Regions from separate parts of the Homo sapiens genome. Here regions 2, 3 and 4 are each linked to region 1. The links are contacts of gene promoters, found by promoter capture Hi-C in blood cells and fetal thymus (Javierre and others, 2016). All regions are on one chromosome and are shown on one strand. Each heading gives the region's core, a stretch centred on a gene start or on the middle of the fragment in contact. The rest is flanking DNA. Distances are from core to core; before and after follow the strand shown.

Region 1 (2,700 bases), core at 79-2,578:
TGATCTCGGCTCACGGCAACCTCCGCCTCCCGGGTTCAAGCGATTCTCCTGCCTCAGCCTCCCGAGTAGCTGCGATTACAGGCGTGTGCCACCATGCCCGGCTGATTTTTGTATTTTTAGTAGAGAAGGGGTTTCACCGTATTGGCCAGGCTGGTCTCGAACTCCTGATCTCAAGTGATCCATCTGCCTTGGCCTCCCAAAGTGCTGGGATTACAGGCGTGAGCCACCACGCCCCGCCTACAAAGGTATTTTAAAATCCCATTTACAATAACCCTCTGAATTAGATAGGTACCAAGTTCCACCCTCTTCTAAACACGAGATCAAATATCAAGGTAAGGTCTCAGAGGGTTTGGGTGTAAAAGACTCCAACCAAATTTAATAAATGGGAAGTCATTACCTTTATTTGTGAGAGAAGCTTTGGAGAATGTGGGGGAAGCTGATGTCAAATATAAAGGGCTTAAAGAGAGAAGAGGGAGAGGAGCTTTCAGCACAGTCCAGTTCACAGCCCGTCGGTGCTCAAAACATACTTGAATACCTGGTACAAAAGATAAAAATGATGGTTTGGTTTTCTATAAGACAGCATAGTTTCTTTAAAATTACACACACACATGCATTGCTTTTCTTCCTTTAATTAGTTGAGACCATAGGACAAAAGAAGAGGCATAGTTGAGCGCGTAATGGTGCGAAAATCAAAAGGTTGGGAAGAAACAAGAAACTCAGATAAACGCTTCCGTCGGCTGTGACAGGTTCTGAGGCGCCCAGATCTACTGGACATAGCGCGGCTCAGAAGCCTCAGAGACCTGTCCGCACAGTTCCTGAAGTTAGCAACAAATTAGTGAGTGCTGTTGCGGGCCATTTTGCAGCCAGAGAAGCAAATGCGCAAATGCGCCCAGCCAGTCAGCACGGACTTCAAGAACCAACTTCATTCCTTGCAAGGTGCTTTAGTTCTGGCCGTTAGGGCGGCAACCAAACAGAAACCTGCCCCGCCTCTGGGAGAGAAGGCGGATCCCTAACGCCAGCTATCTCCAAGAGCAACATTGCCGCAGCACTTCCGGGACGTCGTGCTGCAAAGGACGCCGCTGTTATACGTCACTTCCACGGCTCAGCGTCAGGCAAGTTGGCCTCTCTGTTGTAAATTAGTGGTTAAGGTTATCTATTATTGCCACTTTTCCAGCGCTAAAGGCTGTTTTGGAACCAGTGTTGCTTGTTCCGCGGGTGATTGGCTTTTTTTTTTGGCAAACCAGTTATTCAAGTTTCTGGTCTTTAAAAAACTCTGTGGCGGTACGGTAACCGAGGAGGTTCCAGCGCGGCGGAAGTACCCCGCGGGTGGGTGTGTGCGCAAGGCCAGGGCCAGAGGGGCACGTGGCGCCGGTGAGTGGCCGTAGAAGCCGGAGGATTTGAAAATGCTGGACGTGGAACCCAACTGCCGGAGGGAGGGAGGAAGGAAGGGGATGCGGTGCGAAGACCTTGCTGTCTGTAGGGGGAGGAGATACTAATCATGGGGCGGCAAGGGTGGTGTGTGGTCGGTCGGCGCTCACGAGACCATGGAGAAGTAAACTCTTCACCCATCAGGTTGGTGGTCACTGGCTGTCTGACCGTGGGTGAGGTGACAGGGCTGCTTTTGTCTCCTTTATGGTGTTCTCACCGCAGCTCCGAGGGGTTGGAGTATACTCAGAGGCTACAGTGATCAGAAGACATAGGTCGTTTTTTTTTCATCAGGGAGGAGAGAGAATGTCTTTTCGAGGCGGAGGTCGTGGAGGCTTTAATCGAGGTGGTGGAGGTGGCGGCTTCAACCGAGGTGGCAGCAGCAACCACTTCCGAGGTGGAGGCGGCGGTGGAGGCGGCGGCAATTTCAGAGGCGGCGGCAGGGGAGGATTTGGACGAGGGGGTGGCCGCGGAGGCTTTAACAAAGGCCAAGACCAAGGACCTCCAGAACGTGTAGTCTGTATGCAGTCTTCAGTATTTAGCTTATTTGAAGGAGTAGGTGTGGGTTGGGGGTTTGTGTTGTTAGGCAGCAAGTTTGGGATACACAAGCCTGTGTGGAGAATGTAGCATGTAAGGGTGGAGTGGGGAGATCAAGAAAGCTGAGGGATACTTAGAATGCATCTTGGAGGTGGAACTTGAGGGTTGACAGGAAGATATTAAATAGGTAATCGTGAGTACTTATGCCTAATTCCCCGATTTTACAGATGAGAAAACTATGATTTAGAGTTAAGTTTTTTTGCTGGGGTCATAAGGTTAGTGATAAGTGATCAATTAGTGATATAGCTGAAATACAGGCTGGGTGCGGTGGCTCACGCCTGTAATCCCAACACTTTGGGAAGCTAAGACGGGAGGATCTTTTGAAGCCGGGAGTTAGAGACCAGCCTGGATAATAAAGCAGGAGACCCTGTCTGTACAGAAAAGAAAGAAATACAAAGCCAAGTATTCTGACTCCAAAGCCCATGCTTTCTGTTACTACTCAAAAGTAGATAAGTGAGAAAACAATTTGCTTGAGAGGGAAACTGCCAGAGAGGAAATCTAGAAAAACACCTATTTAGGGTAGTTTTAGAGTAATTAACAATGAGATGGGAATGGAAGTCACAGAAAGTGAAACTTACTACATTAAAGAGGAGAGAGGGTGAGTAGTGTCTAACTAAGAATGGCTTGGATGAGTATGCAGGATGGTTTGAAAGGAGCAGTTTCTAGAATAAAAGGTCC
Region 2 (2,700 bases), core at 133-2,632, 1.8 Mb before region 1:
TTATACTTTAATAAATGATTCCAGAGTTGGAAAATCCCAATGTATTTGAAAGTAGCTGAAGTTTCAGGCATGGAGACTTCTGTCTCCATGAACAGGGTATCAGTACTCCAAAATTCACCTCAGTGGTGCGTAGCTTTGAAAATCTTGGGCCACACACTGTGGCTTACACCTGTAATCTTAGCACTTTGGGAAGCTGAGACGGGAGGATCACTTGAGGTTGGGAGTTTGAGCCCAGACTGGCCAAATGGTGAAACCCTATCTCTACTAAAAATATAAATATTAGCCTTGTGTGGGGGCGCACACCTGTAGTCTCAGCCACTAGGGAGGCTGAGGCAGGAGAATCACTTGAACCCAGGAGGCGGAGGTTGCAGCGAGCCAAGATTGTGCCATTGCACTTCAGCTTGGGTGACAGAGCAAGACTCTGTCTCAAAAAAAACAAAGTCTTATGACCTCTTTGGCATGTACTTTAGAGAGGAAATCTTACCCAAGCCAGAAAGTCTCAGTCTAGGCATTTTTTTTATTGTGCAAGCATATAAAATTCTAGTAATTCTGGGGCTAATCCTGTGATAGGGAGAATTCAAGGAAAGGTGGTGGTGACCCAGTGCTGCCGTTTTCTCCTTAGGTGACGCATCCAAAGAAGACATTGACACTGCTATGAAATTAGGAGCCGGTTACCCCATGGGCCCATTTGAGCTTCTAGATTATGTCGGACTGGATACTACGAAGTTCATCGTGGATGGTAGGAATTGGAATTTTTTGTTGTCTTTAATTGAGGTAGTTTTTCTGAACTGTAAATTATAATGCCTTTTTAAAAAAAGTTAGCAGGGGTCTTAATAAAGACCTTCCAAAATCCTGCCTCACCAGGTTGAGAATTCATGAACAGATGTCAGGAGAAGGAAGAATGTGACTGTCTAGTGTCTCTTTAACAGGGTGACCTTGAAGAAAAAAAAACCTTTATGGATTCACAGGAAGTTACAAATATAGCACAGACAGGTCTTGTGTGTGTGCCCTTCACCCAGTTTCCACCAGTGGTTATATAGCCATAGTACAATATTAAATCCCAGGAAATTGACACTGGTACACTGTGTTATCACATCAATAGATTTGTGTAACCTCCATTGCAAGCAAGATACACATCCATTTTAAAAAATATATCCATTGTAATGTAAAAGCTCTGAAGACAGGGTAAAAATAATAATTAAAACTGGACTACTGAAGTTGAATGTAGCTATCTGTTCCCAAGTTTCACAGAATGCTAGTTGAAGAATTAAATTTTGAATCTTATGTGGATGCAAAATACCAATGGCAGGAATGCAGATTTTTTAACGTGTATTCTGAAAGTTAACTGTGCCAGTGATGAATCCAACCAGCAAATTAATGGCTTCTGTCAGTGTACTTGGGCCTTTGGCCGTAGTGATTTCTGAGAAGACACTGGATAAGCAGGAGGACCATAGTAGGGCCAGGCTTCAGGCAGCACAGGTGGGTGGCAGTGCAGCAGCTTTGGGGCTGATGTGGCTGCACCAGCACAGCCTTCCTTGGTGCCTCTGCAGTGGTGGCCGGAGGGGCGCCATGCCTGGGGGGCTCTCCCACATCAGAGGCAGGCCTCCAGACTTGTCCTTGGAAATGCCAAGATGTAAAAATAAACCCAGCACTTCATCCTGAGTTCTCTTCCCTCCGCTCAATAGGGTGGCATGAAATGGATGCAGAGAACCCATTACATCAGCCCAGCCCATCCTTAAATAAGCTGGTAGCAGAGAACAAGTTCGGCAAGAAGACTGGAGAAGGATTTTACAAATACAAGTGATGTGCAGCTTCTCCGGCTCTGAGAAGAACACCTGAGAGCGCTTTCCAGCCAGTGCCCCGAGTGCCTGTGGGAATGCTCTTTGGTCAGACATTCCCTCACACAGTACAGTTTAATAAATGTGCATTTTGATTGTAATCTATCGAAGTGATTATTACACCAGTTACAGCAGTAATAGATTCTCCATTAAGAAATAATTCCCTTTTTTAGTCTGTTCATTTCTGTGTATTTTCTAAACAGCTTTACACCCTTGGTGCCTTGGAGCAAACATGTTTTTTGAACCTTGTCATTTTTGTGAAGAATTGCCTAGATTCCTTCTCTCATCAACGGGAAAGTACTTCCTCTGAGAGTGCGAGTGCACCATGCTCACTGTTGCTGCGTGGGAGAGTCACAAGCCACTGGCAAGCAAGTGGTATAGTCTGTGAAGCACTGCAGCGAGCAGCACCTGGATCTTGCCTTTATAAGAACATTTTACTACCTGCAGCTTTGAGTCTTGCCCTACATTTTGGGCATGACATAAGATGTGTCTTTATTCAGCTCGTCGTGAAGATGCTGCTGCTGAATGGGTCAGCATATCTCTGTTTGCATGGTTTGCAGGAGGTCGGTTTTCATGGTCATTCAGTTCCACAGATCTGAATGATTACTGTCTGTCTGTGTCTTTTTTCCATGAGAAATCACTGTTGCAAATTGCCTATAAATTGACTCTACTAAAATAACAATGTTTCAGTCTGAAAATTTGAATTGAAAAAAATGTATAATATAAAATTGTAATACACTCAAATGATTATAAAAGTAAAAGTTGGTAATTTAGGCAGAAGCTATTTCTCCTCTTCTTTGACCTGCTGTTAATTTTTAAAGTGGGAGTGACGGGGAGGGAATGGCAGGACAAGGCATTTGTG
Region 3 (2,700 bases), core at 189-2,688, 1.1 Mb before region 1:
ATTCTCTGCCTCAGCCTCCCGAGTAGCTGGGACTACAGGCGCCTGCCACCACACCTGGCTAATTTTTGTATTTTTAGTAGAGACATGGTTTCACCATGTTGGCCAGGCTGGTCTCGCACTACTGACCTCAGGTGATCCGCCTGCCTCAGCCTCCCAAAGTCCTGGGATTACAGGCGTGAGCCACCGTGCCTGGCCTACTTTTTCCTTTTCTACCCACCCCACCCCAACCAACCTGTCTCAGTGAAAACCTGGTTGTTACTAAAGTGAAACTTTAATAAGGATATTGCCTAGGGAAGATTAGTTGTTTTCCTTGTCATTCAAGTTCATTCTGGACCTCTTCCTCTGAGCTGTTAATCAGTGTTGCTAAACAGACAGGGAAAGACAAGGGAGAGAAAAATGCTGATTCATTCTTCAGAACTTTTAACCCTTTTAACCCCTAATTCTTCTCCTTGAGAAGCTATTCTTTGATTGTGAAAAGCTTTGTTGTTCAAGGAAATATGGGTAATAAAAATAGCTAACATTTATTAAGAGCATAACATTTATTAAGAGAATACTGTATGCCAGATATTGTTCCAAGCACTTTTCATATTAACTCACTGCATCCTCATAAAATGCTATGAGATAGTACAACTAAGGCCATTTCATAGATGAGAAAACTGAGGTTCAGAGAGATTAAGTCACTTGCCAAAGATTGCACAGGTCCTAGGTGGCAAGCCTGCAGTAGAGATCCATAGCCTCTGCTCCTAACCACAACGGGGTCTTCTAGGAACGTGTCCTTATTTGGCCTCAAAGGAATAATAATCTTTTAATATTTTTTAAAAAAGAGTTGACTAGATTGGAAAGTGCCTAAGTTCAGGGTCTGATTCTATTTCTTAGTTACTTTACAAAATTTTCTGCACCATACCTCTAGCTATATATTCATACCCACTTGTCGTAGCACTTAGAAGTTTTATCAGTTTAGTCTCACTTGCCTTTGCATCTGAGCAATATGCACAATGGTTAGTATCTATTATTATTATTATTATTATTATTAAGACAGAGTCTCACTCTGTCACCCAGGCTGGAGTACAGTGGTGCAATCCCTGCTCATTGCAACCTCCTCCTCCCAGGTTCAAGTGATTCTCATGCCTCAGCCTCCCGAGTAGCTGGGACTACAGGCACGCACCGCCATGCCCAGCTAATTTTTGTATTTTTAGTAGAGATGGGGTTTCACCACATTGGCCAGGCTGATCTGGAACTCCTGACCTCAAGTGATCGCCCACCTCAGCCTCCCAAAGTGCTGGGATTACAGGTGTGAGCCACCATGGCCAAAAAATATATAATATTATATATTACATATATCTTATATCTATCTTGACATATGTTTGGGGACTTATATAGAAATAACTTTTGGAGAATGCTTTAAAGTTTACAAAGGGTATGTTCATTGCTTTACCTATGACTAATTATAGATATTTAACATGGCCTCATTTATTTGAAATTTAGAAAAGTATTTTTTCATATAACTTCCCTTTGGAAGCATGTTAGTTTAATTCTACCCAAACTGTATGTGCAAGATTATATGTACATATGTTTCTTTTGATAATGCAGCTTTTATATTTCATTTTACTAAATTCAGGCATGAGAAGAGGATAAATCAAGGAAATTTACTCATATAGGTGGTTCATGGCTTCAGTAATGAGGTAAGCTATACTATAAACTTAGAAAAATGAGAAACGAGAACCCCTTTATGAAGCTGGTAAAATGTTCCTAAAATAGAGGTGATTCGCTATCTTGGATTATAAGCTGAGAAATCATAATAATGTGGAACTGAAAATTTGGGGAACACCCAACTCCAATCAAGGTGAGCTACGTTTGATCCCCGGGATCTGTTCACTTGTGCTGTGGTGGGTCTGCAGATAGACAGGAGATAGAAGCAGGAGGATCAGGCCAGACCATAAAAAGAAAATCCCCCAAACCAAGGTTTCTCCTGCACTGTCCAGATTAGAAGGAGCCTTTGCAAGATTATTTCAGTAAAGGAAAGAAGTGCCTCAAACTCTTCTTTAAGAGACGTTTTAGGTTCACTCATTTCCCACTGTTTTGGCTCTACTCACCAAAGCCACTTCCTGATTTGATTGGCTAAAGTTTTATTCCTCTGATTAAAATCTTTCAGATAAAATCTTCATGATAAAAGCCCAACTCCTAATAGTGGCCCCAAAGGCCCTGTACATCGCCTCTTCCCCCTCTCCATCCTTTGATCTCATCTCCTAGTCCTCCAGTTCATTCTGTCCATACTGCCTTCCTTACTGTTCCTCAAACACACCAATCACACCCTGCCTCATGGCCTTTCCTCTCCCTCTACCCAGATGGCTCATTCCCTCATTTCCTTCAAGTCTTTGTTCAAAGGTCATTTCTCAATGAAGCTTTCCTTCTCTGTTTAAAAATTACAGCTTCTACCTTTCTAATTTCTTTTCCATAGCACTCAGTGCTGTTTATCATACTATATAATTGCCTTGTTCATTTTATTTATCTAGATTAGAATATAAGCTACATGAAGGCAAGACATAGATCAGTGCCTGGACATAATACATGCTCAATAAATATTCAATGAATTGCTCAATGTAACCCTTCAGGAAAATATAAGAATTGGCTGATTTGCTATAAGCATCTAAGCATCTCAGGACAATTGGAGTTAATTTTTTCTGCCAAATATCTTCCCTG
Region 4 (2,706 bases), core at 92-2,591, 1.2 Mb before region 1:
GACAGAGTAAGACTCCATCTCAAAAAAAAGAAAAGAAAAGAAAAGAAAATTTACAACCAAAACAAAAGAAACCTTTGGAGGCATGTGTCAGAACAGAGAAAGTGTCCTGGTTTTGCTTATAGAATCAAATATGTTCTCATTCTACCTACTGTTTTCATTCTACATAGTGTTTTCCTTCTTTATAGTTTTACGTCCTCTTCCTAGGAATGAGTCTATTAAGAAAATAGGTGTTATCTTTTAGCTTTGGCATTTGACTTTCAGGATAATAGAGCTATCTGCTACTGACAGAAAAGCTTTGACAAGTGTTTAATACTCTGGATTACCTTCATCTTACTTTTGCAATCATTTATGTGAACATTTGTCTTCCTGTCCACATTCTATAGGCTAGTATGTAACACCGTTGACTAAATCCAAACTTTAGGCTAGGGAAAAAGGGTATACTTTCTGGGTTTCGGTTGTAGATTATGTTTAGATCTAATCAAAACAGGACAGTGGTCCAAACAGAAAATTGCTATTTTCTGTATCTTGTAAATCTAGGATTTGAGTTTTTAAGATGAATTTATGGTTCCCTTTCTGATATCATTTCTCATCTGCAGCTCCTAATGCCTGGTACCTTGGGTATGGAGTGAGGAGAGACAATGGACAGTTTTATATAAGAAATGGAAGTAATGATACTATCTTTCCTGGAATATTTGCAGGCCCCAGAGGAGATGATGAGCAAGGACTGTTGGCCTGTATTACACACAACAGGGTTGTAGTTACTATCCCAGCAAGGAAAGGGTGTATCTTTCTTCTTTCATGCAAATTATCTATGATGACCTAACAGTTTGATTATAGTGAGTGGACTAACCACAACAATAAAAAAGATGTCAAAAAAACACCAATAGCCACTGGTTTTTCCAAATCAACTATGTTTCTAGCATCTGAGATAAAGGATGGCTGTATCATAAGATGCACCATGATAACCTCCAGGGTGGAATTCTTTTTTACAAAGATGTTACCTTTAGCAAGAGATGCCTTTGAAAAGGAGAAAACAGTAGCACTGAAACAGTATTACTGGTTCTGTTTTCTGATTTATGCTTTTTTGAAAGACCTGATGTTTCCCCTATTGATATAATTTTACTAATTAAAACATGTTTTATTTGATGTCTTGAGTTTTGAAGAAACGTCGAAAATGAATGACTGTTGGCTGGGCACAGTGGCTCAGGCCTGTAATCCCAGCATTTTGGGAGGCCGAGGTGTGCAGATCACTTGAGGTCAGGAGTTCAAGACCAGCCTGGTCAACGTGGTGAAAACCAGTCTCTACTAAAAAATAAAAAAATTAGCTGGGCGTGGTAGTGCACGCCTGTAATCCCAGCTATTTGGGAGGCTGAGGCACGAGAATTGCATGAACCCAGGAGGCAGAGGTTGCAGTGAGTCGAAATTGTGCCACTGCATTCCAGGCTTGGTGACAGAGTGGGACTCCATCTCAAAAAAAAAAAAAAAAAAGAATAAAGAATGATTGTTTATTAGCTTTGCACACATAGCAGTACATTTAAAAGGAAAAAATTAAACGTAGTCCCTAATATTTTTATTAGTACAGTCTCAAAGGAGTAATTTTCATTGTGAAAATGAAAATATTCTAATATAATTTATGAGATAATGTATGTGAAATCATGTATGTATGCGTCTGTATGTTCACTGCATTTTAAATATACATAGACTCAAAGGAAATAATGTTCGGTTACTGAGTAGAAGACTGGTACACGTTTGAACTTGATTCTTCTGAAAAAATAATGAATCTTCATTAGATTGTCTTTAGCCTCCACTCTTAGGGCAGCTTTAACTTAAAAGCAGAATCTTTTTCTTTTCTTTTCTTTTTTCCTTTTTTGAGACAGTCTTGCTTTATCACCCAGGCTAGAGTGCAATGGCGCGGTCTCGGCTCACTGCTACCTCCGCCTCCCAGGTTCAAGCCATTCTCCTGCCTCAGCCTCCCGAGTAGCTGGGATTACAGGCATGTGCCACCATGCCAGGCTAATTTTTGTATTTTTAGTAGAGATGAGGTTTTGCCATTTTGGCAGAGGCTGGTCTCGAACTCCTGACCTCAAGTGATCTGCCTGCCTCAGCCTCCCAAAGTGCTGGGATTACAGGCGTGAGCCACCATGCCTGGCCAAAAGCAGAATCTTAAAAAAAATAAAAATAAAAGGTGGCCTGTGGTGGCGTGGTAATGCCCTAAAGTCAGGTGAGGTGTTCAATTGGAGATGGAGGGATGGGTTCCTACATTCAGGCAAGTCTGTTATAAAGCTGTATAAAACTACTTGAAATAGATACTATCAGATAATTGAGGACAAAAGGTCTGCCTTATTTCAGCTGGCAAAAATGGCTTTTTAGCAATTTCACCTAGTGTTTATTAAGCTTGAGAAGAAAAGCTAAGGATCTTCTGGATAAATCCTGAGATCATGGGATCAGTTCAGAAAACAAGTTCTCTTAAAGGGAGAAAGGAATAAAAAATATGAATGTAATAATATTTAAACTAACATCATTTAGGGAATGATATGCTGCATATATGTGATTCCATGTAATTGAAAATACATAAATACTAAAACATTGTATTCATTTTCGACAGACCCTCTTTCTAAAGCGTTTGTTGTGTTGTATTACACGTTAACACTCATATTTGTATGTAGCAAATATTTATTTGATAACTGTTACTTGCTGGACACTGAG

Evidence for each region. Contacts are between HindIII fragments. The CHiCAGO score rates a contact against its expected background, and 5 or more counts as called.
Region 2: a fragment that was not itself captured here is called in contact with the fragment with the promoter of GAR1 in region 1 in 1 of 17 cell types (total CD8 T cells); the score reaches 7.0 in total CD8 T cells.
Region 3: a contact is called between a fragment that was not itself captured here and the fragment with the promoter of GAR1 in region 1, in 3 of 17 cell types (activated CD4 T cells, total CD8 T cells and M1 macrophages). The highest score is 6.9, in activated CD4 T cells.
Region 4: a contact is called between a fragment that was not itself captured here and the fragment with the promoter of GAR1 in region 1, in 5 of 17 cell types (naive B cells, non-activated CD4 T cells, total CD4 T cells and 2 more). The highest score is 6.8, in naive B cells.

The regions. Positions count from the first base shown.
Region 1 is chr4:109,814,434-109,817,133 of GRCh38, forward strand. GAR1 (GAR1 ribonucleoprotein) reads left to right here and starts at 1,329. Exons shown (of 7, transcript NM_018983.4): 1 at 1,329-1,371; 2 at 1,720-1,945. The coding sequence starts at 1,732. It overlaps GAR1-DT (GAR1 divergent transcript), which reads right to left and starts at 949. Exons shown (of 2, transcript NR_186620.1): 1 at 398-949. RefSeq lists enhancers at 705-804, 975-1,374, 1,385-1,434, 1,785-1,834, 2,005-2,074. The HindIII fragment of the contact is 3,017 bases long and covers 414-2,700 here.
Region 2 is chr4:108,032,554-108,035,253 of GRCh38, forward strand. It overlaps HADH (hydroxyacyl-CoA dehydrogenase), which reads left to right. Exons shown (of 8, transcript NM_005327.7): 7 at 623-739; 8 at 1,686-2,618. The coding sequence ends at 1,804. Among named protein-coding and RNA genes, the nearest start is that of HADH, 44 kb to the left of the region's middle. The HindIII fragment of the contact is 2,884 bases long and covers 1-2,700 here.
Region 3 is chr4:108,684,877-108,687,576 of GRCh38, forward strand. No RefSeq gene overlaps it. Among named protein-coding and RNA genes, the nearest start is that of OSTC, 36 kb to the left of the region's middle. The HindIII fragment of the contact is 1,924 bases long and covers 477-2,400 here.
Region 4 is chr4:108,659,748-108,662,453 of GRCh38, forward strand. All of the region lies in intron 3 of OSTC (oligosaccharyltransferase complex non-catalytic subunit), which reads left to right. Among named protein-coding and RNA genes, the nearest start is that of OSTC, 11 kb to the left of the region's middle. The HindIII fragment of the contact is 2,101 bases long and covers 292-2,392 here.